Linked DNA regions of Homo sapiens: all the other regions are linked to region 3. Evidence: promoter capture Hi-C in 16 types of primary human blood cells and fetal thymus (Javierre and others, 2016). All regions are on one chromosome and are shown on one strand. The core of a region is centred on a gene start or on the middle of the fragment in contact, and the rest is flanking DNA. Distances in the headings are between cores, read along the strand shown. Region 1 holds the start of ARL2BP (ARF like GTPase 2 binding protein). Region 2 holds the start of GOT2 (glutamic-oxaloacetic transaminase 2). Region 3 holds the start of SPMIP8 (sperm microtubule inner protein 8). Region 4 holds the start of CNOT1 (CCR4-NOT transcription complex subunit 1). Region 5 holds the start of CIAPIN1 (cytokine induced apoptosis inhibitor 1).

Evidence for each region. Contacts are between HindIII fragments. The CHiCAGO score rates a contact against its expected background, and 5 or more counts as called.
Region 1: a contact is called between the fragment with the promoter of ARL2BP here and the fragment with the promoter of SPMIP8 in region 3, in 6 of 17 cell types (M0 macrophages, total B cells, monocytes and 3 more). The highest score is 9.1, in M0 macrophages.
Region 2: the fragment with the promoter of GOT2 here is called in contact with the fragment with the promoter of SPMIP8 in region 3 in 4 of 17 cell types (total B cells, activated CD4 T cells, fetal thymus and 1 more); the score reaches 10.1 in total B cells.
Region 4: a contact is called between the fragment with the promoter of CNOT1 here and the fragment with the promoter of SPMIP8 in region 3, in 1 of 17 cell types (fetal thymus). The highest score is 6.3, in fetal thymus.
Region 5: a contact is called between the fragment with the promoter of CIAPIN1 here and the fragment with the promoter of SPMIP8 in region 3, in 10 of 17 cell types (neutrophils, total B cells, M1 macrophages and 7 more). The highest score is 13.6, in neutrophils.

The regions. Positions count from the first base shown.
Region 1 is chr16:57,242,141-57,247,341 of GRCh38, reverse strand. ARL2BP (ARF like GTPase 2 binding protein) reads right to left here and starts at 2,083. Exons shown (of 6, transcript NM_012106.4): 1 at 1,937-2,083; 2 at 1,201-1,262. The coding sequence starts at 1,974. LOC124903697 (a long non-coding RNA gene) reads left to right here. Exons shown (of 2, transcript XR_007065082.1): 2 at 1-1,527. RefSeq lists silencers at 1,685-1,894, 1,985-2,364. The HindIII fragment of the contact is 5,456 bases long and covers 1,198-5,201 here.
Region 2 is chr16:58,732,543-58,737,183 of GRCh38, reverse strand. It overlaps GOT2 (glutamic-oxaloacetic transaminase 2), which reads left to right and starts at 2,868. Exons shown (of 10, transcript NM_002080.4): 1 at 2,868-3,044. The coding sequence starts at 2,956. RefSeq lists enhancers at 2,744-2,823, 2,523-3,141 and silencers at 3,264-3,353, 3,454-3,543. The HindIII fragment of the contact is 10,522 bases long and covers 1-4,641 here.
Region 3 is chr16:57,974,341-57,979,523 of GRCh38, reverse strand. SPMIP8 (sperm microtubule inner protein 8) reads right to left here and starts at 2,980. Exons shown (of 8, transcript NM_199456.3): 1 at 2,890-2,980; 2 at 1,485-1,709. The coding sequence starts at 1,707. The HindIII fragment of the contact is 9,202 bases long and covers 1-5,183 here.
Region 4 is chr16:58,627,420-58,632,175 of GRCh38, reverse strand. CNOT1 (CCR4-NOT transcription complex subunit 1) reads left to right here and starts at 2,350. Exons shown (of 49, transcript NM_016284.5): 1 at 2,350-2,448. RefSeq lists enhancers at 1,483-1,972, 2,263-2,472, 1,921-2,596, 2,597-3,273. The HindIII fragment of the contact is 12,291 bases long and covers 1-3,352 here.
Region 5 is chr16:57,445,553-57,450,332 of GRCh38, reverse strand. It overlaps CIAPIN1 (cytokine induced apoptosis inhibitor 1), which reads left to right and starts at 2,948. Exons shown (of 9, transcript NM_020313.4): 1 at 2,948-2,991. It overlaps COQ9 (coenzyme Q9), which reads right to left and starts at 2,854. Exons shown (of 9, transcript NM_020312.4): 1 at 2,755-2,854. The coding sequence starts at 2,827. RefSeq lists an enhancer at 2,742-3,036. The HindIII fragment of the contact is 5,604 bases long and covers 653-4,780 here.

The DNA.
Region 1 (5,201 bases), core at 834-3,333, 730 kb after region 3:
AAGGACCCAGACTTTGGGATAAATACCGTAGGCTCACAGAAGGCTCATTTTCCCATAGCATATAGGGTATAATAGGCAAGAGAACTGAATGGATTCTTCAGTATTCCCCAGAAATCCCCAAGTCCACATGGGAAACGAGCTTAATGATGAAACATCTATATTCAGGAGTTAAGGGCATGAACCTTTATACCTGAAGGTATAAAAACTTGGTCAGTAATTTTCATTCTAAATGGATTAAGCCATACAGCCAATAACACCAAATAACAGTGTTCTTTTCTCAATTCTCATAAAACTTAAAGTCAACAGAATTTTCTCAAATGTAAGTTTTCCCCTCCTACATACTTGTCTTAAACCTCTGGGGACTGTTACTGCTTCTCTGTTACTTAGCAGGTTTCATGGATGCCCAAATACATCCACAAGTAGGAACTCAAAACCTAGGAAAATACAGAACCAGCTGAAGCTTAATACCTTGTTTTCTTTATGGCCATGTGTGCTTATGGTTATGGTTTTATGTGTTTATTTTCATTTTTATTTTTTCCAGACGGAGTCTCGCTCTGTCGCCCAGGCTGGAGTGAAGTGGCACGATCTCGGATCACTGCAAGCTCCACCTCCCAGGTTCACGCCATTTTCCTGCCTCAGCCTCCTGAGTAGCTGGGACTACAGGCGCCCGCTACCACGCCCGGCTAATTTTTTTTGTATTTTTAGTAGAGACAGGGTTTCACCGTGTTAGCCAGGATGGTCTTGATCTCCTGACCTCGTGATCCGCCCACCTCGGCCTCCCAAAGTGCTGGGATTACAGGCGTTAGCCACCGCACCTGGCCTGGTTTTATGTGTTTTATGGCATGAAAATGTTAAAACTCAAAACTATCTAAAATTGAAATTGCTCTTACCCTACATAAGAAATAGAGTAGATCATTATTTCCTATAGTTTTGCGAAGAACGCCACACTGCTGGTGCCCTATTAGCCTGAGTCAGTCCCTTCCAGCCTCTGAATCTATGCTTATTAGATGTTTTCAGGAGTACTGGGCTGTTTGTTTCTAAGACAAACTGCAGTAAGCCTTTACTTAAGTATTACATTGTGCTACATTAAAAATTGCAGGCAGCTTGATGTTTTCTCTTTTTAAAATTAACTCTCCAAATTGATTTCAATGTCCTTAAAGAAACAAGCAAGTCCTTAAAAACAGTATCTTAAAAGCTTACCCATGATAATGTCCTCTAAATATCCAACCACAGCATCAAATTCTGCATCAGAGGCGGAGGAGCTGAAAAACATGCCTGGATTAGGTGCTATTTCAAATAATGCATTAAAAAAATGTTTTTAGTATGGACGTTTTCAAACATGCACAAGAGAAAAAAGAGTAGCAAAACGAACTTCCCATCACCCATCTTCAACGATTAAGAATGACTGACTGATCTAGTAAGTCCAAACAGAAGAAAACACACTCGGCACGTTTGTGACATGAACGTTCAATGTCATGACTCCACTTTAATAAAAACTTGTTCTCCAGGCTCTTAGCTATCACCCCATACCTGTCTGCTTGTGAGCATGAACCCGGCACGGGCGAAACACCTGCCGGGGGGGGTCATTTGGTCAGGAGTCCGGGAGGCGGGGGCCAGGGAGGGGTGGAGGGGCCTCGGGCGCTCAACCCCTCCAGGCTTTGCTGACAGCTGAGGGTTGGCGGCTGGGGATTGTGATGGAGGCGCTGATCAACGGTGACACCCGCCTCGCACTCCTGTCCTGCGGGGCCTGAAACCTGCAGCCTTAGTACTCTACAAAAGGAAGGCCTGGAGCTGGGACGGCGCCTTGGCGGCCCCCACCCTGCCCGGCCCGGCCCGGCCCGGCCCCTAAGGACACCTGTTTTATAGGGTCAGGCCCCGGGGCGAACGCCCGCTGCCTCCGGCCCCAAGTCGCCTGCGCCCTGGAGGAGCTACTCACAAAGACAGCGCAAAGCTCTCTCCTTCTAAGGCGTCCATCGCAGTCGCCCCGAGTAGGCTCCAACCCCGCCCGCGGCCCAACTCGCATGCAGGGCGCGGCCGCCCGGCGGGGTTAAGGCCTCTCAGCCAAGGCCGCGGCCAGCTCACTGCCAGGTCGGGTCAGCGCCTGCGCGCCAGGTCCGGCCTTGGATACCCTCTGCCGCCACGCGTCGGTCCGGCCTCTACGCCCGCCTGGCCCTCTGCGCGCGCCGCCGACGCCGCAGGTCCGGGCCTCGGTGACTGCCGGAGGGGCGCGGCGCCCCGCCTCCTGTCACCATGGCCACCGCAACCCCTTCCACCGCCTCACGGCCGGCCGGCATCCAATCACAGGCGAGCGTTACCGATGCCGGGGCGGGGCAAGACAGGGAGAGGAAGTCCCGGAAGGGAGTGCGGAGGGATGCGGCGCTTCGGCGAGCACCCGTTGTGTGGGAACTCCGTCTCAAGTCGCCCCCATTGTACGGATGAAGGAATCGAAGCCACGAGCCAGAATTTCCTCACTCGCAACTCGAGAATAAATTGCGCCTCCCTGAGTGTGGAGGATTAAATAAGTAGTTTAAGGCGTGTTTAAAGAGCGCTTGTAAGTTGCCAAGTCGCTGGAGAGCCAGTCCCTTATCCCTTGAACCAGGTGATGCTGACGTCTGATTTCAAGACAGTTCCTACCCCTCGTGGAAGGAAAGCCCCATCGCAAGAAGTCGATGTCCTGTAATTTACGTTATAATCTTCGCATCATAAAGATTACTCGGCAGTAATTGGTTTCTTGACTAATTATACAAGATGAGAATTGAAGAACTATTTTGAGCCACGCAATCAGGAATCAGATACCTTTCAGGAAAAGGCCTCTTCAAAACTGCCAAACTTTGAAAAAGGATTCGTTTGAGCTGATTTCTCTTGATTGGACAACTAAGCATTGTGTCTCTTTAGTTGCATGATACCTTATGGCCAAAGTGTGGTATATGACTAGAGGAACTAGAGGGGTTTAAGGTATGAACTGAGGGTCAGGTGGCCAGTCAGAATGGGTTAGCAGACATTTTTTATTTTTTTGAGACGGAGTCTTGCTCTGTCGCCCAGGCTGGAGGGCAGTGGCACGATCTCGGCTGGCTACAACTTCCGCCTCCCAGGTTCAAGCGATTCTCGTGCCTCAGCCTCCCGAGTAGCTAGGATTACAAGTACGTGCCACTATGCCCGGCTATTTTTGAATTTTTAGTAGAGACAGGGTTTCACCATGTTGGCCAGGCTGGTCTCGAACTCCTGACCTCAGATGATCCACCTACCTTGGCCTCCAAAAGGGCTAGGATTACAGGTGTGAGCCACCACAACCGGCCTAGCAGACATCTTTGAATGGACTTAAAATAGATATCCGTGGGATCTGAAACAAAGATGGTTACAAAGACACAGTCGGGTGTGACAGCTGTGACCAAGGTGACATAAATTATTACTAATTTATTTATTTATTGAGATGGAGTTTCGCTCTTACTGCCCGGGCTAGAGTGCAATGGTGCAATCTCGGCTCAACACAACCTCCGCCTACCGGTTTCAAGCGATTCTCCTGCCTCAGCCTCCCGCGTAGCTAGGATTACAGTCATGCGCCACCATGCCTAATTTTTTTGTGTTTTTAGTAGAGATGGGGTTTCTCTATGTTGGTCAGGCTGGTCTTGAACTCCCGACCTCAGGTGATCCGCCCGCCTTGGCCTCCCAAAGTGCTGGGATTACAGGCGTGAGCCACTGCGCTCGGCCTATTTATTTTTTGAGAGGGAGTCTTGCTCTGTTGCCCAGGCTGGAGTGCAGTGGCGCAATCTCGGCTCACTGCAATCTCTGCCTCCCGGGTTTAAGGGATTCTCCTGCCTCAGCCTCCTAAGTAGCTGGGATTACAGGCGCGTGCCACCACACCCGGCTAATTTTTGTATTTTTAGTAGAGACAGGGCTTCACCATGTTGGCCAGCGTGGTCTCGAACTCCTGACCTCTGGTGGTCTGCCCGCCTCGGCCTCCCAAAGTGTTGGGATTACAGGCGTGAGCCACCGCACCCGGTCAGGTGACATCAATTATGAGTTACTCTGTTTAGCACCAAGTGGAAGATAGGCATTTAAAAAGATTTGCTGAATTACTGGACTGAGTTGTTTAGTCAAGCCCTGGTCACACAGCTTACAGCAAACTCAGAGAGTTTCTTCATGACCTACTTTCTCTATATACCACACATTTCTGGACAAAATGAATTTGCCTACCCTTCCTAAGTCATTGATGGAGTGGAGGAGGAACACACCTTGATTTAATCTGTTCTGGTTATCTATTGCTGTTACAAACCACCTGAAAATTTAGTGGCTTAAAACCACCATTTTGCTCACTAATCTGTAATTTGGGCAGGGCCAGCTAGTCTCTATTCCAGTTGGTGTCGGCTGGGGGCAGCTGGAATGGACTAGAGGAGCTTCCTCCAAGGAGTTTACTCACATGGCTGGCAAATTAGTGTTGGCTCTTGGCTCTCAGTTGTGGACATTGGCCAGAGAACTGGGGCCGGGGTTTGGGGGGTTTCAGTTCCTCTCCATCTATAGGATTCAGGGGATTCTTGGGTTTTCTCACACCATGGTGCTGGGTCCAAGAGCAAGTGTTTCAAGACACTGAAATGTAAGCTGGCAGTCACTTAAAGACCTGGTACTGGAAACTGGCACAATAGCCCTTCCACTGTGTTCCACTGATCAAGCAGACCCAGAGCCACCCAAATTTAAGGAAAGTAGACATAAACCTCATTTCTTGACGGGAGGGATGTCAAATAATTTGTGGCCATCTTTTAATCCATTTCACCAACCTTACTGACTCTAGGAACAAATGGGGATAAAGATAAAAAGTACCCACTCAAGGATGTATCAGATAGTGTGCTAAACATTTATAAATACATTGTCTCCTTTTGAAATATTTGAGACCTTACAAAAACAAAAAACCGGTATGAGGTGGGTAGTATCTCCATTTTACAGACTGGGAAACCAAGCATTAGTGGGACCTGGGTCCAGTCCCACTCCAAAGGGCCTATTTCAACCATCATGCTATATAGCCCCTAATCCCTGGGTTGTTAAACCATATTCTTGGAAATCAGAACGTTTTCTCCTGAATACAGAATGGCCTTTTTCCACTTGTAGCAAAACTAAAAATTGACTTGAATACACTAAATGTTTTTCCATTAATACTCATTTTTAAAATCCTTTGATTGGGGGTTGGCACTAGGAATTCTTCTGAGTGA
Region 2 (4,641 bases), core at 1,619-4,118, 760 kb before region 3:
TGTAATTGTTTTGGGAATAGTAGTTGTTATGTGTTGAAATGTGCCCCCAAAAAAGATACGTTTAAGTTCTAACCTGGGGAACCCATTAATGTGATCTATTTGAAAATAGGGTCTTTACAGATGTAATCAGGCGAAGATGAGGCAATTAAGATGCACCCTACCCCAATATGATTGGTGTCCTTAAAAGAAGAGAAGAGACAGACAGGGAGAGAACACTGTGTGACACCAGAGGCAGAGATTAGTGATGCCTCTAACAGCATACGAATGCCCAGGAGTGCAGACAATTGCCAGAAGCTAGGAGAAGCATGGAACAGAGTCTCTGAGACCCCATAAGGCACAAACCCTGCCAATACCTTGATTTTTGATTTTGGGCCTCCAGAATTGTGAGTGAATAAATTTCTGTTGTTTTAAACCACCCAATTCATGGGGATTTGTTACAGCAGTCTGAGCAAACTGATGTACTGGTATGTTTGAAATTCTTGTTTCTTGGTGCTGTAAAGAAATAGCACTTGAACATAAATTTAATTTCCTCAGCAAGGCCATCTTTATACTTTCGGCAGAAAGGGTACACTCGACAGCAGTTTTGCCATGAGAGTACACCAAACAAAGGAGACAAGGTCACTTATAACCTGATACATCCACCTTGCTGCTGTGTCCGGTTTTCATTGGCTGGAACAGGTCCTCACATTTTGTATTTGTTCTGATTGGCTAGCAACTTAGAACTTTTTAAAAGAGGCAAAGGCAGAGGAGAGCAAAGGAAGGAGGAAGTAACTTGTGGAATGCTGAGAAAGGTAAAAACACCTTCAAATAAGGAAGAGGAACAGGCTATGACCTAATGCTTGCTTGGACCAGTATAAGCATGCCAGGGCAAATATTTAGGCTAAATGGTGGCAGCTAGGAACATAAAGTACATTGATTTCTTTATTATGGCTAGCAGATATTTAAGACTGTTAGTACAGGTCTTTGAATACATTTTGTTTTTAAGAGAAGTTACTATTTATTTCTAATTAGACAGGGAGGAAAGTCTTTAAAGAAGAATCTCTACTTTACTTTTCACAGGTAGAATCCCAAGTCATGGCCTATAGGCGCATAGGTCAAGGTCATATGAGAGCATAAGGGTCTGAGACAGTAAATTGGAGCTGGGCCGGAAGGACCTAGAATGTGGCCCTAAGTAGGGGTTTAGACTTTACCATTCAGGCAACGTGGAGCCACAGAGGAGATATTAAATTGCCAAGGTACACAGTTCTATCTCGGTTTTATTTTATTTATGTATGTATTTATTTATTTATTTAGAGCCAGCGTCTCACTCTGTTACCCAGGCTGGAGTGCAGTAGCGCAATCCTGGCTCACTGCACTCTTTTTTTTTTTTTTTTTTTGAGTCGGAGTCTGGCTCTGTTGCCCAGGCTGGAGTGCAGTGGCGCGATCTTGGCTCACTGCAAGCTCCGCCTCCCGGGTTCATGCCATTCTCCTGCCTCAGCCTCCCGAGTAGCTGGGACTACAGGCGCCCGCCACTATGCCCGGCTACTTTTTTTTTGTATTTTTTTAGTAGAGAGAGGGTTAGCCAGGATGGACTCGATCTCCTGACCTCGTGATCCGCCTGCCTCGGCCTCCCAAAGTGCTGGGATTACAGGCGTGAGCCACCGCGCCCGGCCTGCACTCTTGAATTAATGGGCTCAAGCAATCCTCCCTCCTCAGCCTTCTGAGTAGCTGGAACAGGCACGCAACACCACATCCTGCTAATTTTTTTTTATTTTTTTAAGAGATGGGGGTTTCATCTTGTTACCCAGGCTGGTCTCAGACTCTTGTTTTCATGCTATCCTCCTGCCTCAGTCTACCAAAGTGTTGGGTTTACAGGCATAAGCCAACACACCGGGCCCCTACCTTGGTTTAAGAGACGAGTATCAGAGAAATAGACTACACATGAGAAAGACTCGTTTGACTTGTGGATGTGTCTGAAATTCATTTGCTTTTTCCTTTAAAACCGATTCATTTCCTTCAAAACCGATTCATTTCCTTCCACAAACAGTTATCAGGATTTGACATACACGAGTTTGTCATTAATGACCATGGGTTATTTTGTGCTTACTAAATCAGGCCCTGTTTTAGACATAATCTGCTAATCTTATTAATCCTCACAACTGCCCCACAAAATACACATGCGACCCTCTCCATAAAAGGGATAAGGAAGCCAGGTGCGGTGGCTCATGCCTGTAATCCTAGCAGTCTTGGGAGACTGAGACGGGCAGATCACTTGAGATCAGGAGTTTGAGACCAGACTGGTCAACATGGTGAAACCCCCGTCTCTACTAAAAATACAAAAATTAGCCGGGCGTGGTGGTGGCACCTGTAACCCAGCTACTCGGGGAGCTGAGGCAGGAGAATCGCTTGAACCTGGGAGGCAGAGGTTGTAGTGAGCCGAAATCACGCCACTGCACTCCAGCCTGGGTGACAGAGTGAAACTCCATCTCAAAAAAAAAAAAAAAAAAAAAAGGGTGGGGGATAAGGAAACATTCAGGAACGACGTGACATGACTTGTGCTTAGGGAAACTATTAGGGTTGAAAGTAAGGCCACCTTGGGTCCTAATGGCTGTAAGGCATCAGACAAAATACGTCAACTATGTCAGCCTACATTTTCTCATCTTTCAAACTGCCATAACAGCAGCCACCTCTTCGGCCGGCCAGGCCTGGCCCAGCTGGATTAAATGAATGAAGCGCAGCAAGGGCTGGGCGTAGGTAAACTGTGCAGTCATCCTCTTCCACGACCTCCGCTGAGCCCACGCCGCTCCGCCCGCCGGCCGCCAGGGATCGCTGTGACGTGGCTCGGGCCCAGCACGCGGCCGCTCTGGCCCAGGGAAGTCCCTGTCCTTACCTTCAGCAGGAGCCGGTTCCCTGTGTGTGTGTCCGCTCGCCCTCTGCTCCGTCCTGCGGCTGCCCACTGCCCTCCTACGGTCCACCATGGCCCTGCTGCACTCCGGCCGCGTCCTCCCCGGGATCGCCGCCGCCTTCCACCCGGGCCTCGCCGCCGCGGCCTCTGCCAGAGCCAGGTAAGCCAAGGGAAACGGAGATGGAGCCAGGGCGATGGCCCTGCCCCGCCGAGCTGCGAGCACCCCAGGACATTCACCCCTCCCGGCCCCCAAATACACACTGTCACTCACACGCACACACACACACTTTTCTGCCACCCCCTCGGCTTTCCCTTACTGGGGACTGAGGATTGAGCGTCCGTGCCCCACAGTGATCCTCAGGATCCCACATCCCTCTGGTCCCCGCACTGGGCCCTGCAGGAAGGCGTGCAACGCAATCCCTAGGGAAAGGAAGTGTGGCCCTCGGCGGTTGCCGGACTCCCATTCAGTGGGAGGGGTGCGGATAGTACTGGGGCAGCGGCGCCGGGTAACGACCGTGCCCTTGATAGGGTGCCCTGGGGGCGGCGGGCGCACCTGTCCTGGCCCCCGGCCCGCCCGAGTCGGTGGGCCGGCGGCGGCTGGCTGCCGCGTGTGTGCCCTGGGCGGGAAGAGCGCGAGAGGAAGGTTTCCGGGGCGCCGGCATTCGGGCCTCGCTTTCCTTCCCGCACCTGCGACCTTGGCGTGCGGCATTCTCCTGACCTTGCGACCCCCCGAGGTCCCTGTGACCCCGGGGCCCGTTTGGCCTTTGCTTGGGAAAGGGTCGAGGTGTAGTGTGTCTCTTTTTTTGTTTTGTTTTGTTTTTTCCTTATTGCCCCTAAGGAGGTCCGGTTGCAGGGAGGCTATCAATCTTCCTCTCCATCTCCCTGTGCTCTTTCATTCAGTAAATATTTCGTAACTGCAGTTTCTCAGAGCCAGGCTCTGGACCAGATGCCAACGATACAACTGTGAACAAGGCGAGGGAAGGACAATGACAAATGGTCATTGCTCAAAAAATGACAAACGTAATTTCGTACTGTGGCGTGTATAATAGTATGGAGGGAAATTTCAGAGCTTGAAACGAGCTCTAGTAATTCATTCCCAGTGGAGACCGGAGCCAGAAGATTAATTCAACTCAAGAAGCCGATTTGGAGCACTCTCCTTAAGCACTACCTTAATAAGGAACTGAGTTTTAAAACCACCCCCAAGCAGGTATTAACTGCAAGGAGCAAAGCGTAGCTTGGCCTTTCGTTTGAATGTATGCTCTGTGTCTTTCAGCCAGCAGAACTATCTGTCCTTTCCAAGGCCCCACAGCCTTGGCAGTACAGTTTTGCCCAGGCTTCGCACTTTTTTCTCTTCCTGACTTGGCTCCTTCCTGGCCCACTGTCAACGTGTGCTCTTTAAGTCTGCCTACCTAGTGGGCCAGAGCCAGGAGGAGTTATTTATGCAACAAATTTGGAAAACCAAAGGAGTGCTTAAAATTTCCGTCAAGAGAAAGTATGTTTCCCTATTGCAGTAATCTTAAAATAATACCTTGTTTTATGGATTTGGCTAGATCACCTGAAGCTCTAGTGCTTGGTGAAAATCCCTTGGGGTCAGGGTTAGTCATTCTTTCAGTTTGAGAGTCTGACTCATTTTTCTTTTCTGTATTTTTCTTACTAGAATGTAAGTTCCATGAGAGCGGAGACTTTACCTACTTTATATTCACTGTTACATCTCAGCACTATTAACAGTTGCTGGCATGTCTCTTATATTGGATATT
Region 3 (5,183 bases), core at 1,731-4,230:
GCTTTCCTTAAAAATCTAGATTCCTGGCTTCTCTCAGAAGCGGGAAATTGGAAGAACTGGTGACCTGGCTGGCCCCTCCAACATAGCACAGTCTGTGGGGAACCCCGTGGCTGCCGTTTAAATAGGGCAGGTGTGGGTGCCCCTTTTCCCTGTGGAGTGTTCCTTCCCCACGGCCTCCCCACCCACTTCCCTCACTTGTGTTTCCCATTAGGGCCCATGTGGCAACTCTGGTAATCTCCGTGCGGTCTCTGACACCCTCAGCCCACCTGTCACCCAAGCTGGAGCCTAGGTATGGGCCTGCACTCCCCCTGTTTGGCCTCCTACCCTGCCCCGCCTGCACCTACTCCTGTTGACTTTATCTGCTAAATACCTTCTAAATCCCTCCACACGCAAGCTCCTCAGTCCATGCGGGGTTATTCACTAGGCCCGTGGGGCTCTTTTGCCCTGAAGGCCCACACGTCTTCCTCTCCTGCATGGGGGCTGTGAGGAGAGGTCTTTCTCTCTCTTTTCCACATACAGAGATGCTTGGGCAGAAGTTACTACTGTTATGACTCCTACCACTGCACCTGTCAACCTCTGCCCAGTTCTCTCTCCATTAATTACAACAGGCTAGGCACAGTGGCTCATGCCTGTAATCTCAGCACTTTGGGAGGCCAAGGCAGGAGGATCGTTTGAACCCAGGAGTTGAGACCAGGCTAGGCAACATAGGGAGACCCTGTCTCTACAAATAATTTTTTAAAATCAGCAGGGCAGGGTGGCACGTATCTGTGGTCCCAGCTATTCGGGAGGCTGAGATGGGAGGATCATTTGAGCCTGGGAGGTCGAGGTTGCAGTGAGCTGTGATCATGCTACTGCACTCCAGCCTGGGCGACAGAGTAAGACACTGTCTTCAAAAAACAAAACAACAATAACAACAATGGCATCAGCAATACTTTTTGAGCACATATTATGTGCCAGGCACTACTCTAAGTGCTTTTTTTTTTGAGACGGAGACTCACTCTTGTTGCCCAGGCTGGAGTGCAGTGATGTGATCTCGGCTCACTGCAACCTCCGCCTCCCAGGTTTAAGCAATTCTCATGCCTCAGCCTCCCAAGTAGCTGGGATTACAGGTGCCTGCCACCACGCCTGGTTAAGTTTTGTATTTTTAGTAGAGATGGGGTTTCACCATGTTGACCAGGCTGGTCTCAAACTCCTGACCTCAGGTTATCAGCCTGCCTTGGCCTCCCAAAGTGCTGGGACTGCGCCCAGCCTCTAAGTGTTTTTTGTGCCTTATCTCCTTCTAACCCCACAACAACACTTTGAGGTAGGCCTTGTCAATTATCCTCATTGTACTGAGCAGTAAACAGAGGCTCAGACCTGGCCAAAGTGTCCTGGGCAGGGAGCAGCAGAGCTGGGACTGGCCTCTTTCATCCTTGCATCTGTCTCCCTCTTTCCTGAAACCATCTGCCCCTTCCCCAAAGGGGATCCTACACTGGTGTCCTAACCTTTGCGGCAGTAGGTGGTGGACTGGCAGTGCTCATCAGGAAGGCAGGCCTTGACGGTGTCCCTGTCCATGTGGCGCAGGGTGGGCAGGGCTGGGTGGTAGAGCTGCTGCTTCACGCCCGCCAGCTGGTTGCGCTGCCGCTCCATGGGAAGCAGGATGGCCGGGGAGGCATACACATGTGTGGAGCCATCGTCCCAGGGCACCAGGTCAATGATGCGGGCCATAGCTGGGGGGCAGAGGGTTCTAAGGGGCTCACCCTGGGCTCATGCTGGCCAGACACCCTTCTCTGCATGAAAACAACCTTGGCCAGTGCCGATGTCTACTTGCCAAACATTTATTTAGCACCTACTGTGTGCCAGGCCATTTTTCTGGAGCTCAGCATGAGGTGGCAGGAACATTCAGATAACAGAAGATAACAGAGACAACCCTCCCACTCCCCTTCCAACACACACATACACACACACACACACACACACACACTCACATTGTGCCATGGCTGTGAGGGAGGTCAGTACAGAGTGTGTGTTTCTGGGGAGGCTGGGGTTAGGACATTCAAGGAATGGTCTAAAAGAGGTGGTATTTGAGTCTATTCGTTTTTTTTTCTTTCTTTCTTTTCTTTTTTTTTTTTTTTTTGAGACAGTCTCACTCTTCTGCTCAGACTGAAGTACAGTGGCGCCATCTTGGCTCAATGCAACCTCTGTCTCCTGGGTTCAAGTGATTCTCCTGCCTCAGCCTCCTGAGGAACTGGGATTATAGGCATCCACCACCACATGTGACTAGTTTTTGTATTTTTAGTAGAGACGGGGTTTCACTGTGTTGGCCAGGCTGGTCTCGAACTCCTGACCTCAAGTGATCCACCCGCCTCAGCCTCTCAAAGTGCTGGGATTACAGGTGTGAGCCACCTTGCCTGGCGAGTCTATTCTTAAATAATAAGCAGGAAAGTGCAGCAGCAAGCGGGTTCAGAATGTAGCTTAGTATGCCGTATACCTCTGGGTGAATAATTATGGACTTGCCCTAGCTATTTACCCAAAATTCTACAGATTGACTCAGAAAGATTTTCAGGAAGGGGAGCAACATGATATATTTAAACTAGAAAAGCATTACTGGATACCCAGTGCCTCCCTTTAAAAAGCAGATAGTCCCAGGAGCCTTTCAGTCATTTACACTTTAGTGAGAATTTGTTGAGACAGCTTGCTTTCTTCCTGACCCTGAGTTAGAGGTGAGAGGTGGAGGTGGAAGCTAGGGTGGCAGGAGGAGAGAGGACCTTAGATCATGGAGGAGCAGGGAGGGGGCATGGTGACAAGGCATGGGGAAGCTGCCTTAGGGGATGTGACTGCCTGGGGAGGGACAGGGAGGGGGATCACGGATATGGGGAAGAGAGCAAGGGCTCCCTGCTTCTGACTCACCAATAGCAGCTACCTTATCTGTAGGGCCCAGGCCCAGGTGCACAGGCTTATAAGGACTTTCAGTTCTTTGACTGCTCAATGGGCAGAAGAGGAAGGGAGGTGGACGAGCCCTTATTATGGACAGCAGCAGAATAAAGGAACATTGTGCACAGACAATGCCCATTGCAGCCTGATTCTGAGGCACCCACTCCTTAGCAACCCTGGCAACTACAGGCTCTAACAAGAGCCTGTGCCAGAATTCCTGTGCTCTGGCCACTCCCTTCCAGCCTTCCTGAAGGCTGTGGTCTCCCAGGCCTTAGCACAGGCCAGGCATCTTGGGAAATGTCAGATGGGGAGCTGGGGTTCCCTGGAGGTAGTCAGGCCAAGGCAGGCCAGAAATGGCTACTGAGCCCACTGCAGGCTGTGTAATCCTGGGCTAATTACCGCCTCTCTCTGGGACTCAAGGCTCTCCTCTGTGTTAGGCAAGGACTCTAGGATCTGCCGTTAGGAGGATCTGGATGCTGAGAGGGATCTCCCCTCCCTGGAACCCTCAGGGAAGAGGGCACTGCACTGTCTGCCAGCCCTTGAGTCTCCAGGAGTGGAGATTAGCTGTGGCCAGTATCCAGGGTAAGCGTGAGGGGATCAGGGAGAGTGGTGGACTCAGCAGGCCAGGGATTAGCAGATGATACTCCACCCTCAGCCCCTGCAGGACTGCAGGCTCCCAGAAAAGCCAGGCTGTGAGTGCCCAAGGCCAGCACCCCAAAGCCCTGGGGCCTGCCCACCATCCTGGTCACAACCATTAGAGACAGACCCCCAAGGTGAGGAAACCCCAGGAGATCCTAACTTATTTGCATATATTGGCATGTGCTTTTGCATATACCTGCCCAGGGGCTGAACCTGATGGGTCTTGGAGCCCCTCCTGTGAAATTCTTGTAGGATTTGTTTCCCCAGTTGCTCCTCCTCCAGTGCTCCATACAGCTTCCAGAACAGCATTCCTAACTGCTACCCCTTACAAAAAACCTTCCCAGAGTTGACTCCACTCACCACCCCACCCCCAATTTATTTCTTGACTCTTTTAAAGTTATAAAATAGAAGAAATACAGAAAGTGAATAAATATCTAATGTAACTAATAATTTACAAAATGAGACCCCGTATAACTACCACCCACCCTGGTCAAGACATGGAGTACTACTTTTAAAACAGTTTATCAGTTTCTTAAAAAATGAAACAGAAATGTACCATATGATTGGGTCATCTGGAAGATTCTACCCCAGGAGGCTTCCCAAGAGAAATGAAAGTATATTGTGAGGCACGATGGCTCACACCTGTAATCCCAGCACTTTGGGAGGCTGAGGTGAGCAGATCACTTGAGGTTGGGAGTTTGAGACCAGCCTGGCCAACATGGTGAAAACCTGTCTCTACTGAAAACACAAAAATTAGCTGGGCGTGGTGGTGCAAGCCTGTAATCCCAGCTACTCAGGACGCTGAGGCAGGAGAATCGCTTGAACCTGGGAGGCGGAGGTTGCAGTGAGCCGAGATCGCAGCATCGCACTCCAGTCTGGGCGGCAAGAGCAAGACTTCGTCTCAAAAAAAAAAAAGTATATATCTTCACAAAGACTTGCACACAAATGTTCATAGCAACATGATGTATCGCCAAAAAGTGGAAACAACCTGTGTCCACTGATGAGTGGATAAACTGTGGTGCGTCTATACCATGCAATACTCTTGGGCAATGAAAAGAAATGAAGTTCTGATACAAGCTACGAGGTGGATGAACCTCATAAAACATTACGCTACATCAAAGAAGCCAGATGTGAAAACTCACATATTGTATGACCCATTTATATAAAATGTCCAGGAAAGACAAATCTATAGACGCAGAAAGCAGATGTGTGGTTGCCTGGGACTGGGGTGTACGAATGAAGAGTGGTTATCATCTGGTGTGAGGGGTCTTACTGGGGCAACGGGAATGTTCTAAAACCAGATGTGGCAAGAGTTGCACAGTTCAGTCAATGTGTTAAAAATCATGAGTTAGGCCGGGGCGGTGGCTCACGCCTGTAATTCCAGCCCTTTGGGAACCCCGAGTGGGTGGATTGCTTGAGCCCGGGAGTTCGAGACCAGCCTGGGAAACATGGCGAAACCCTGTCTCTACAAAAAATATGAAAATTAAATGGGCATGGTGGCATGTGCCTGTGGTCACAGCTACTTGGGAGGCTGAGGTGGGATAATCACTTCAGCTCAGAAGGTCGAGGCTGCGGTGAGCTATGATCACGCCACTGCACTCCAGCCTGGGTGATAGAGTGACACCCTGTCT
Region 4 (4,756 bases), core at 1,101-3,600, 650 kb before region 3:
AGCCTGACCAACATGGTGAAACCCTGTGTCTACTAAAAATACAAAAATTAGCTGGGTGTGGTGGCACGTGCCTGCAATCTCAGGTACCTGGGAGGCTGAGGCAGGAGTCTTGCTTGAACTGGGGAGGCCGGAGGTTGCAGTGAGCTGAGATTGCACCATTGCACTCCAGCCTGGGCAACAAGAGCAAAACTCCGTCTCAAAAAAAAAAAAAAAAAAAAAAAAAAAAAAAAAAAAAAAGATGTGTTTTTAGGACATATGCTCAGTTAACTAGGCCAGTCACAAAAAGACAAATACTGCATGATTCCACTTATATGAGGTATCTAAAGTAATCAAACTCAGGAACATAAAGAAGAATAGTGATTGTCAGGGACTAGGGGGAGGGGGAAATGGAAGGTGTTAAACAACAGATGTAGTTTCAGTTTTGCAAGATGAAAAAGTTCTAGAGATCTGTTGTACAACAATATGCATATAGTTAACACTACTGTATTCTACACTTAAAAATGATTAAGATGGTAAATTTCATGTGTTTCTTACCATAATTTTTTTTAAGTATTTTTTTGGGCACGAGAGGTAATATGAGAGAGATGGCCAGAAGACCACCTACTGAGCCTAGTCTGAGGACAGGGGTGAGCACAGGGATAGGTTTGAATTTCTTTTTCTTTTCTTTTTTTTTTTTGGAGACGGAGTCTCGCTCAGTCGCCCAGGCTGGAGTCAAGCGGCGCGATCTCGGCTCACTGCGACCTCTGCCTCCCGGGTTCACGCCATTCTCCTGCCTCAGCCTCCCGAGTAGCTGGGACTACAGGCGCCCGCCACTACGCCCGGTTAATTTTTCTGTATTTTTAGTAGAGACGGGGTTTCACCGTGTTAGCCGGAATGGTCTCCATCTCCTGACCTCGTGATCCGCCCGCCTCGGCCTCCCAAAGTGCTGGGATTGCAGGCGTGATCCGCAGCGCCCTGCCTTTTTTTTTTTTTTTTTTTTTTTGAGACAGAGTTTTGCTCTGTCGCTCAGGCTGGAGTGCAGTGGCGCGATCTCTGCTCACTGCAACCCACGCCTCCCGGGTTCAAGCGATTCTCCTGCCTCAGCCTCCTAAGTAGCTGGGATTACAGGTGTGCGCCACCACGCCCGGCTAATTTTTTGTATCTTAGTAGAGATGGGGTTTCACCGTGTTAGCCAGGATGGTCTCGATCACCTGACGTCGTGATCCACCCGCCTCAGCCTCCCAAAGAGCTGGTATTACAAGCGTGAGCCACCGCGCCCGGCCTTAATTTCAAAAGGTAATAGAGCTAACCAGTCAACACTTCCTTCCCAATCCTTTCTCTTTTGGGTACAGGTGAGTATAAAATCTTACCAACTATCATAGTTAACAAACAAACCATAGCAAAATATGTTTCTATGCTTTTTCTCTTGAGAGCAAAGGACATGGGTATCCTTTCTTAGACGGCTTCTAGGACTTAAGCCAGGAAGAGAACTTGCGTCTCCTACGTCTCTGGAAGGCGTCTCTGGAAGGTGTCCCTTCTTCAATAGACAGAACTAAAACAGAAAGTTCCCTTGACCAAAGCGAAGCAAGCGAGGACAAGGTGGCCACCTGGGTGACTACAACCCCCAGCATGCACTGCTCCTTCTAGGGCGCAGCGACGAACGAAGACGCATTACTTCTGCGATGGGAACGGGGTAGAGGAGCGCGACTACACATCCCAGGATGCAAAGCGCCCCAACTCTAGTCACAACCTGGCTTGCTTTCTGGCTGGCGTTCCCCGCCAAAGGGACACTAGGGGAGGGGATTGTTTCGGTTGGGAATCCCCGAAGTCTACTGGACCGTGACATTTCGAAAGAGGAAGGAAAGTGGAGGAAAGCTGTTTCACTGTAATTCAAAGTAGTTCCCGCGCAGGGTGGCGAGGAGTTATGGGCCCCTTCCATAATTTATTGTTCCTCAAAGGCAATGCCAAGCCCCACTGGTCGCAGCCCTCCAGGGCAGGTGGGAAGTACGTGAAGCCCCAAATCGAAGTTATCAGCCTCTCCCTATTGGCCCTCGCCTCGAGCGCAGGCGCGAGGGCTCTGACTCCGGTCCCCTGGGCCTGGTGAGCGGCAATTGGCCAAAGTCCGCGAAGTAGGAGGCCGGATTGGTAGTTGCTAGCAGGAGCCTGATTTCTTCCTCGACTTCTGCAAGTGATAGAGTGTGATTGGTTTAAATCCGCGGGCACCTGTCGGTGATTGGGTAGAAGCCACAGGCGGGGCGCGGCCATTGGCTGGCTCTGGGGCCATCCCTCCTCGGGCGGGCAGCGAATGATGAAATGGGAACGGGGAGGGGAAAGGCCGCGACGTGAGCGCGCGACCTCCGGCGCCATTTTGTAGAGAAACAAGCGGAGTTAACCGAAGAGGGGGTCGAGGAGAGCCGGAGTCGGGGACCCAGGAGTTTCCTGTGTCCAGCGCTGCCGGAGCCGCCTGAGGTGAGGCGGGTTGGCGTCAGGGGCTAGGGTAGGGTGGCGGTGTCAGCTTGGGAACGCGAGAGCCGGTGGGAGGAGGAACAGGGGTGGACCTGGGGCCACTGGAAGCGTTTCCCGGAGCTCTAGGGAGTGAGAGGCAGCCGGGACGGGGAAGTGGGACGAGGCGGGAGAGGGCGGACTCTTCTCCACACGGCTCTCGGAGGCTTCGCGCTCTGAAGATGAGAGGCCAGCGAGAAGGCTCCAGGAAGCGGAGGGTAGAGCGCGGGGTGAGACCCATGGTGGTCTCTGTCCCGGGCCTGGAGGCTCAGGGGGCGGCAGCGGCGGCAGTTCGTGTCGCTGGGCCTGGCTTCGCGCGGGTTGCACCCCTCTGAGACCTCCACGACCTCCTTAACTACTGTTTCTGTCTCTGCTCCCTGATGGTTGCAGTGGGCATCGGCTTCCGAGGCCTAGGGCTTCTGGCGGGGGGGACCGTGTTTGGAGTTTTTGCATGTTTCCAGTTCTTCTCCGTGTACTCGGAGCTGCCACTCTCCCCGTCTTACGCCCCCAGCACGTTGTCAAAGCCCCCCAGGTTTCGGGTGTCCCCGGATGGGAAGGGCGGGCGGGAGCAAGCACTTCCTTATTACTTGCTACAGGTTTTGTTCCACTCGCGCGCCTGGGCGCTCACACTTTCTTTGAAGTTGGCCCCCACCTACTCGGTCCGGTGTCTGCAGTAGTGGCGGTCCTGCTCACCCAGGACAAGTGTCCCGCTAGTGAGCTGAGCACTTGTAGGCCTCAAGGCTGATAAGATCCACGGCAGGTCTTGTAGAGGTACTTAAGGCCAAACACAAATAATACTTTTTCAGTACCACCTCCTTTGCAGAATTCACCCAAGAGGGCTCACAGATACTAACTCCCCGAGGAGTAAGCTTTGTAGATTAAAAAAGAATGCTTGACATCTGTGCGTTTGAAAATGTTGTATTTAAAATAAACTTTATGACAAACTTTTCCCATGAAGTTAATCAAATGTCACATTTCTTAGGACTCTAATAAAGTCTGTTTTCTTCCTGAAAACTGAGTAACAATGCTTAACCTACCCTGCCGATTTCTCTACAATTCGATAGCCTGTGACTACTTGGGTTTTTTTTTTTTTTTAAGTCAGTGATTGAGTGAATATAATTATACTGTTTGAAACAATGCCGAACGTTTTCCTTATGACAGCCCCTTTGATAGGAATAGGGAATACATGGATTAAAAAAATGAGGGAAGGCAAGTAAAATATTAGGAGGAAGGTCAAACAGATTAAGAACAATTTTTTTCTATAGGTACTTGGGTTTAATACTTAAGTGATCTGTGGTCCCGGTTGGTATTCCTACCCTTTTAAAGATTGGCAGCAGAGTATTTTAGCTATTAAGAAGACATGTGGTAACAGTTTAAATAATTATGTTTTAGGATACTGCAAATTGTTACCTTGTCTAAGGAGAATATGCATTGATGATACATGGTTTTAGGTGGCTAGCTGTGCTTTGACTGAAATGATAGCATGTTGATAAAACTAGTTTGGAGAGTTAGTTCCTTTTCAACAAGTGTGGGTTCCCCAAGTCTTAGTGGAAACAAGTCTAGAATCGACTGGGCGCGGTGGCTCACGCCTGTAATCCCAGCACTTAGGGAGGCCAAGGTAGGTGAATCACCAGAGGTCAGGAGTTCGAGACCAGCCTGGCCAACATGTCACAACCGCGTCTCTACTAAAAATACAAAAATTAGCCGGGCGTGGTGGCAGGTGCCTGTAATCCCAGCTACTTGGGAGGCTGAGGCAGGAGAATTGCTTGAACCCGGGAGGCGGAGGTTGCAGTGAGCCGAGATAGAGCTACTGCACTCCAGCCTGGGGGACGGGGAGACTCCGTCTCAAAAAAAAGTCTAGAATGAAGGCGCAAAGACATGTCTATTTGTAACTGAAAATATTTCCTTTTCTTACCTAAGATTGTAATCTTAGAAGTTTTAAGGTACGGTTTTGTGGCATTACGGTGGAAAAGAATTGAAATGTGCTCTTTTTGGTTCCCAGCTTAACACCCCGGGTTCATTTTCTTTTTTTCTAGTTTCTGAATTTCTCTTCGGGGTTTAGATCCTAGTCTCTTTAACATAGATGTTGTCAAGCTAAATAATAAGACATCCTTCTTATTTGGAGTCAAGTCATTAAAAAAAGCTATGAAAACAAATGGAAATGCTTGCCATCTTTTCAAAACATGCTTTAAAGTCTGATTTCAAATTACCTTGCATGTTACTTTTTCTGAGTATGTTTTAGGATAGATTCTGATCTGGTTATGAGAAACTTTTT
Region 5 (4,780 bases), core at 1,699-4,198, 530 kb after region 3:
AGTGATTCTCGTGCCTCAGCCTCCCGAGTAGCTGGGATCACAGGCACCCGCCACCACTCTCAGGCTCACTTTTGTATTTTTAGTAGAGACGGAGTTTCGCCATGTTGGCCAGGCTGGTCTCAAACTCCTGACCTCAAGTGATCGCCCGTCTTGGCCTCCCAAAGTGCTAGGATTACAGGCGTGAGCCATCATGCCCAGCCTATTATAAAAATTTTCAAACACGCAAATTGAAAGAATTATGGAATGAACACCTGTATATCTGCCACTAGGTTCAACACATCTGTCATGTTCTTCATTCATCCATCTTGATTTTCAGTGCATTTGTTGCAGATATCAGTATTATTCACCTCTAAACATTTTAGCATCAAAGACTTCTACGTTCACTGTTTTGTTATTCAGATGCCATTTACACACAATGAAATGCATAAATCTTAAGTGTACCATTCTATGAGTTTTGACAAATGTATACACTTGCACAACCTAAACCCAATCTAAACAGAGAACATTACTGTCACCCCAGAAAGTTCCCTTATGCCTTTTCAGTCATTCCCCATTCATACTGTTCTGAATTTTTCACTCTAGGTTAGTTTTTGCTTGTCTTAGTTTTGCCTGTCCTAAGATTTCATCTATATGTACATGTTTCAGTAAAGCTTCTTTCACTTAGGACTATATATGTGTGTGTATATATATATATTTATTTATTTTAAGTTTAAATAGAGACAGAGTCTTGCTATGTTGCCCAAGATGGTCTTGAACTCCTCGGCTCAAGCAACCCTCCCACCTCAGCTTCCCAAAGTGCTGGGATTACAGGTGTGAGCCACCACACCTGGACCACTTAGTATATTTTTGAGATTGATCCATATTTTTATGCCTATCAGTATATCTGGCAAAGATTCTCTCCTTGATCAGGCTCTAACCAGGCTCCTCTGAGCCCTCTTCTTATCTAGGCCTCAACCTTGGCCTATAAAGACTTGAACACACACTAACATAAGCATCACTCAGGGCCACATCCCTTAAGATAACCCTACCCCCCTTTAAAGTGCCTGCCTGAGAAAACTCAAGGCTGTCAAAAAAAATTTTACTGTTTGTTCAGGCTAACACTTAAGAAGGATAGGGCTTGTCTCCCTGTGGGAAAACAGAATCCTAACTTTGTTAACTGCCAGCTAGCAGACCAATCTTATTTATAATTATTCACTATCCTGACTCTACTGAGTCCCCACCTGCCTTCCTCCCTCCTCCCTCATTTTTTCTTTGAAACACCCAGTGACTTCTGCATGCTCTAAACTCAAGGTTGGGCTCCGTTCATGCTAGACTCTTTTCCCTATTGCAATAGTTATTACTGATTAAAAATGGTCCTTATCACTTTAGTGTCCAGCTTTCTCTTTGACTGATTTTTAGTTTTTATTGCAGAATAGTATTCCATAAAAAAAATACTATTCTGTTGCTAGACAACTGGACTGTTTCTGTGTTTGGCTACTATGAATAAAATTGCTATGAATATACTTGTACTAACTTTTTTGTAGACACATACCTTCATTTCTCTTGGTGGATTTGCGGGGTCATAGACATTACTTTTACTACACATCTTTAGTTTGGAATTTTGTATAAATACAACAAAAGGGGGCTAGGCGGTGGCTCATACCTGTAATCCCAACACTTTGGGAGGCTGAGGCAGGCAGATAACTTGAGGTCAGGAGTTTTGGACTAGCCTGGCCAACATGGTGAAACCCCGTCTACTAAAAATAAAAAATTAGCTGGGCATGGTGGCACAACCCCAGCTACTAGGAAGGCTGAGGCAGGAGAATCACTTGAACCCAGGAGGTAGAGGCTGCAGTGAGCCGAGATTGTACCACTGCACTCCAGCCTGGGTGACAGAGTGAGACTCTGTCTCAACAACAAAATTAAGCCAAGTAGGGTGGCACGCACTTGTAGTCCCAGCTCCTTGGGAGGCTGAGGAGCCAGACCCTGTCTCAGAAAAAAAAAAAAAAGAAAAAAAAGAAACAGAATAGTATGTGCCAAAATATCAATATTTTAATACATGTACTGAAAGATACGGCACAAATATCCGCAAAACTTTGAAAAGGAAGGAGCAGATGCAAAGTATGACTGTAGTACCACTGAGGGTCATGAGAAGATTTTAGGTGAAATACAGGTGAACGTTTCATCAGTTATGTATGTATGCTAAAGTGTTAATGCATACGTTCTAATTAAGGAAGGCGATATTAGTTTTCCATTTATGACAATGATATAAAGTTTCCTCTTTAAGAACTCCTATTTAAAAATAAAAATACTGAGTACATAGTGGCAAAGGTGGTAAGAGAGTATCACAGAATTCGTGAAGTGGTGAGGAAACGGCTGGCTTTCGGGAAACAATGGACTAGGCTCTCTGTGGCCGTGTCCACCTGTCCTTCCAGTGGACTTGGCAATGGACTTGAGAATGGGTCTGCGACTGCCAGTTCTGTAACCAACAGGCTCAGGCTGCGTGACTTTCGTACCCCGAGCCCTCTCTGAGGCTCTGCCAACTCCATGAAATGGGGGTGACAGGCCCTGCCCCGCTGCATCTGCCCCTCACAGACAGCGGAGCAGGGCCGAAGCTAGCCAGGCGGCTCGCCCGAGCCCGCGCCGATGCCCTTCACCTCACCTTGCTCGTGGGCCGCCCCAACGGCCTCTTCCCCCCACCGTCGAACCCAGCTGAAGCCGGCCTCGCGCCCCCTCCGCGCTCCCCGCCTCTCCCCGGCTTGGCAGCCCCCTCACCGGGCAGGCATCGCAGCTGCAGGAGCCTCCAGCCCGCCCGGCCAAGCGCACCAGATACCGCCGCCGCCGCCATTTTGGAAGCGGGCACGTCGCCCACGGCGACGCGACCGGTAGCTACGGGACCACGGCCCTAAGGAGGGCGGAAGTCGTCGCTCCGTGGAGCCTCCTCCTCTCGCGAGAGGCGCAAGGCGTGGAGTCGACGGCTGGAGAGAAGCCGGGAGCGAGCCCAGGCGGCAGGTGAGAGTGGTGGGGGCCAGCTGAGCGCCAGAGCTCCCTCAACTGTCCCCTCCCGGCCCACCCTCGTTCCCACATCCTCTCATTTTCTCTTCCCACCCCGTTCCTCGATGGGAACGCAGCCACGGCCGCCCCGCTGAAAGCCCCGGCTGGTTTATTCCTGAGAAGTCGGTGTGAGGGGCCAGGGCCGGCCCTAACCTCCCTGGGGTCCTGACTGGGAATTTCTGCCGTTCCCCGGCTGCCTCGTCCCTTGCGCAGCCGGCCCTACTCTGAGGCCCCGGGGACACCACGCTGAGGAGAAACGGCTCCGAGCTTGGGATCGGGGAGACCTGGTTCTGAGACCCGGTCCTACCAGTAGCCAATCGTTGTGACCTTGGGCCTCAGTCCCCGTGACGTTTTGGTCCCTGGGGGTTCCTGGCAGCAAAGCACGAAAGCCTTGGAGTCGGGGGGTACCTGAGCTCACGATTGTAATTTCGAACCTGCAACTTGTCCGAACCCCCAGCGTGTTGAGTTGATATAATTAAGTATCCAGATCGGAAGGATGCTTGTTACTAGAACAGACAGCTAGGCCTTTGTCCAGAAGGATTGATTGAGTGGGTCTGGGTGTGGTCCAGGAATCTCATTTTAACCACTCCCTCGGGTGATTTGTAGGATCTGCAAGTTCGGGAAAGGCTGGTGCCCTTCATTCTGACATTACTGAGTGCCAAGCTCTGGATGGCTCAAGGAGGTCACGGTCTAGCCACTAACAGAGCACTTCACGGGGGTGTCATCAGAGAAGGCTTAGTAGGAAGAAGTAAACGGTTTTTGGGCTAAGAGTAACTGACGACAAGAGCATGTGATTCTGTCGATTTTGTGTTTGCAGTCAGACCCCATCATTGTGTCTGTTAAAGTTGTGCTTTGCACACCCCTTGTCAAATCTAGTCTTTTCAGAATATCCGGCTCCCCCCTGCACGGGTGCGGGGAAGACCTCCTAAGCCAAAACTTACCCCAAAGGTTAAAATTTTAGATCCATATTTCTGGTTTTAGGTAAAACACTCCTCTCCATAAGGATTTGTTTCTGAGTTCTATCCATCCATCTTTGAATGAGCCTTTCCTGTGGAAACTAACATTTGGGTATCCTTTCTGAAACCCTAATTCCTGACACACGCCAAATGCCTGGAGACGTTCCTGTTTCATTGTTGATTCTCACTTTTTAAAAAAAATTCTGGGCCAGGCTCATGCCTGTAATCCCAGCACTTTGGGAGGCTGCGGCGTGTGGATCACTTGAGCTCAGGAGTTCGAGACCAGCCTGGGCAACATGGCGAAACCGCATCTCTACAAAGAATACAAAAATTAGCTGGGTGTGGTGGTGGGTGCCTGTAATCCCAGCTATTTGGGAGGCTGAGGCGGGAGAATCGCTTGAACCCCGGAGTCGGAGGTTGCAGTGAGCCAAGATTGTGCCATTGCACTCCAGCCTGGGCAACAGAGCAAGACTCTGCCAAAAAAAAAAAAAAAAAAAAAAAAAAAAAAACCTCTAAGGTCTTAGTCTAAGTGTCTAGACAGAGCGTTCTCTTGAGGGCAGGGAACAAGTGTCTTCTTGTCTGTCTCCCGTGTAGGGACAGGCACATAGTAGGTTTCTTAGGTCTCATTTGCAGGTTGTAATTGTGCCTTCCTACCATTCTGCTAAAGCTGGCAGGGAAACTGAGGCCCAGAGAGGGGCAATGGCTGACTTGGATTGCACAGCAGGCTGGTTAGGCCCACTTGGTACTGGTCACCCAGAGGCCAGGCAGTGACATGTATGTGCACAAGAGCT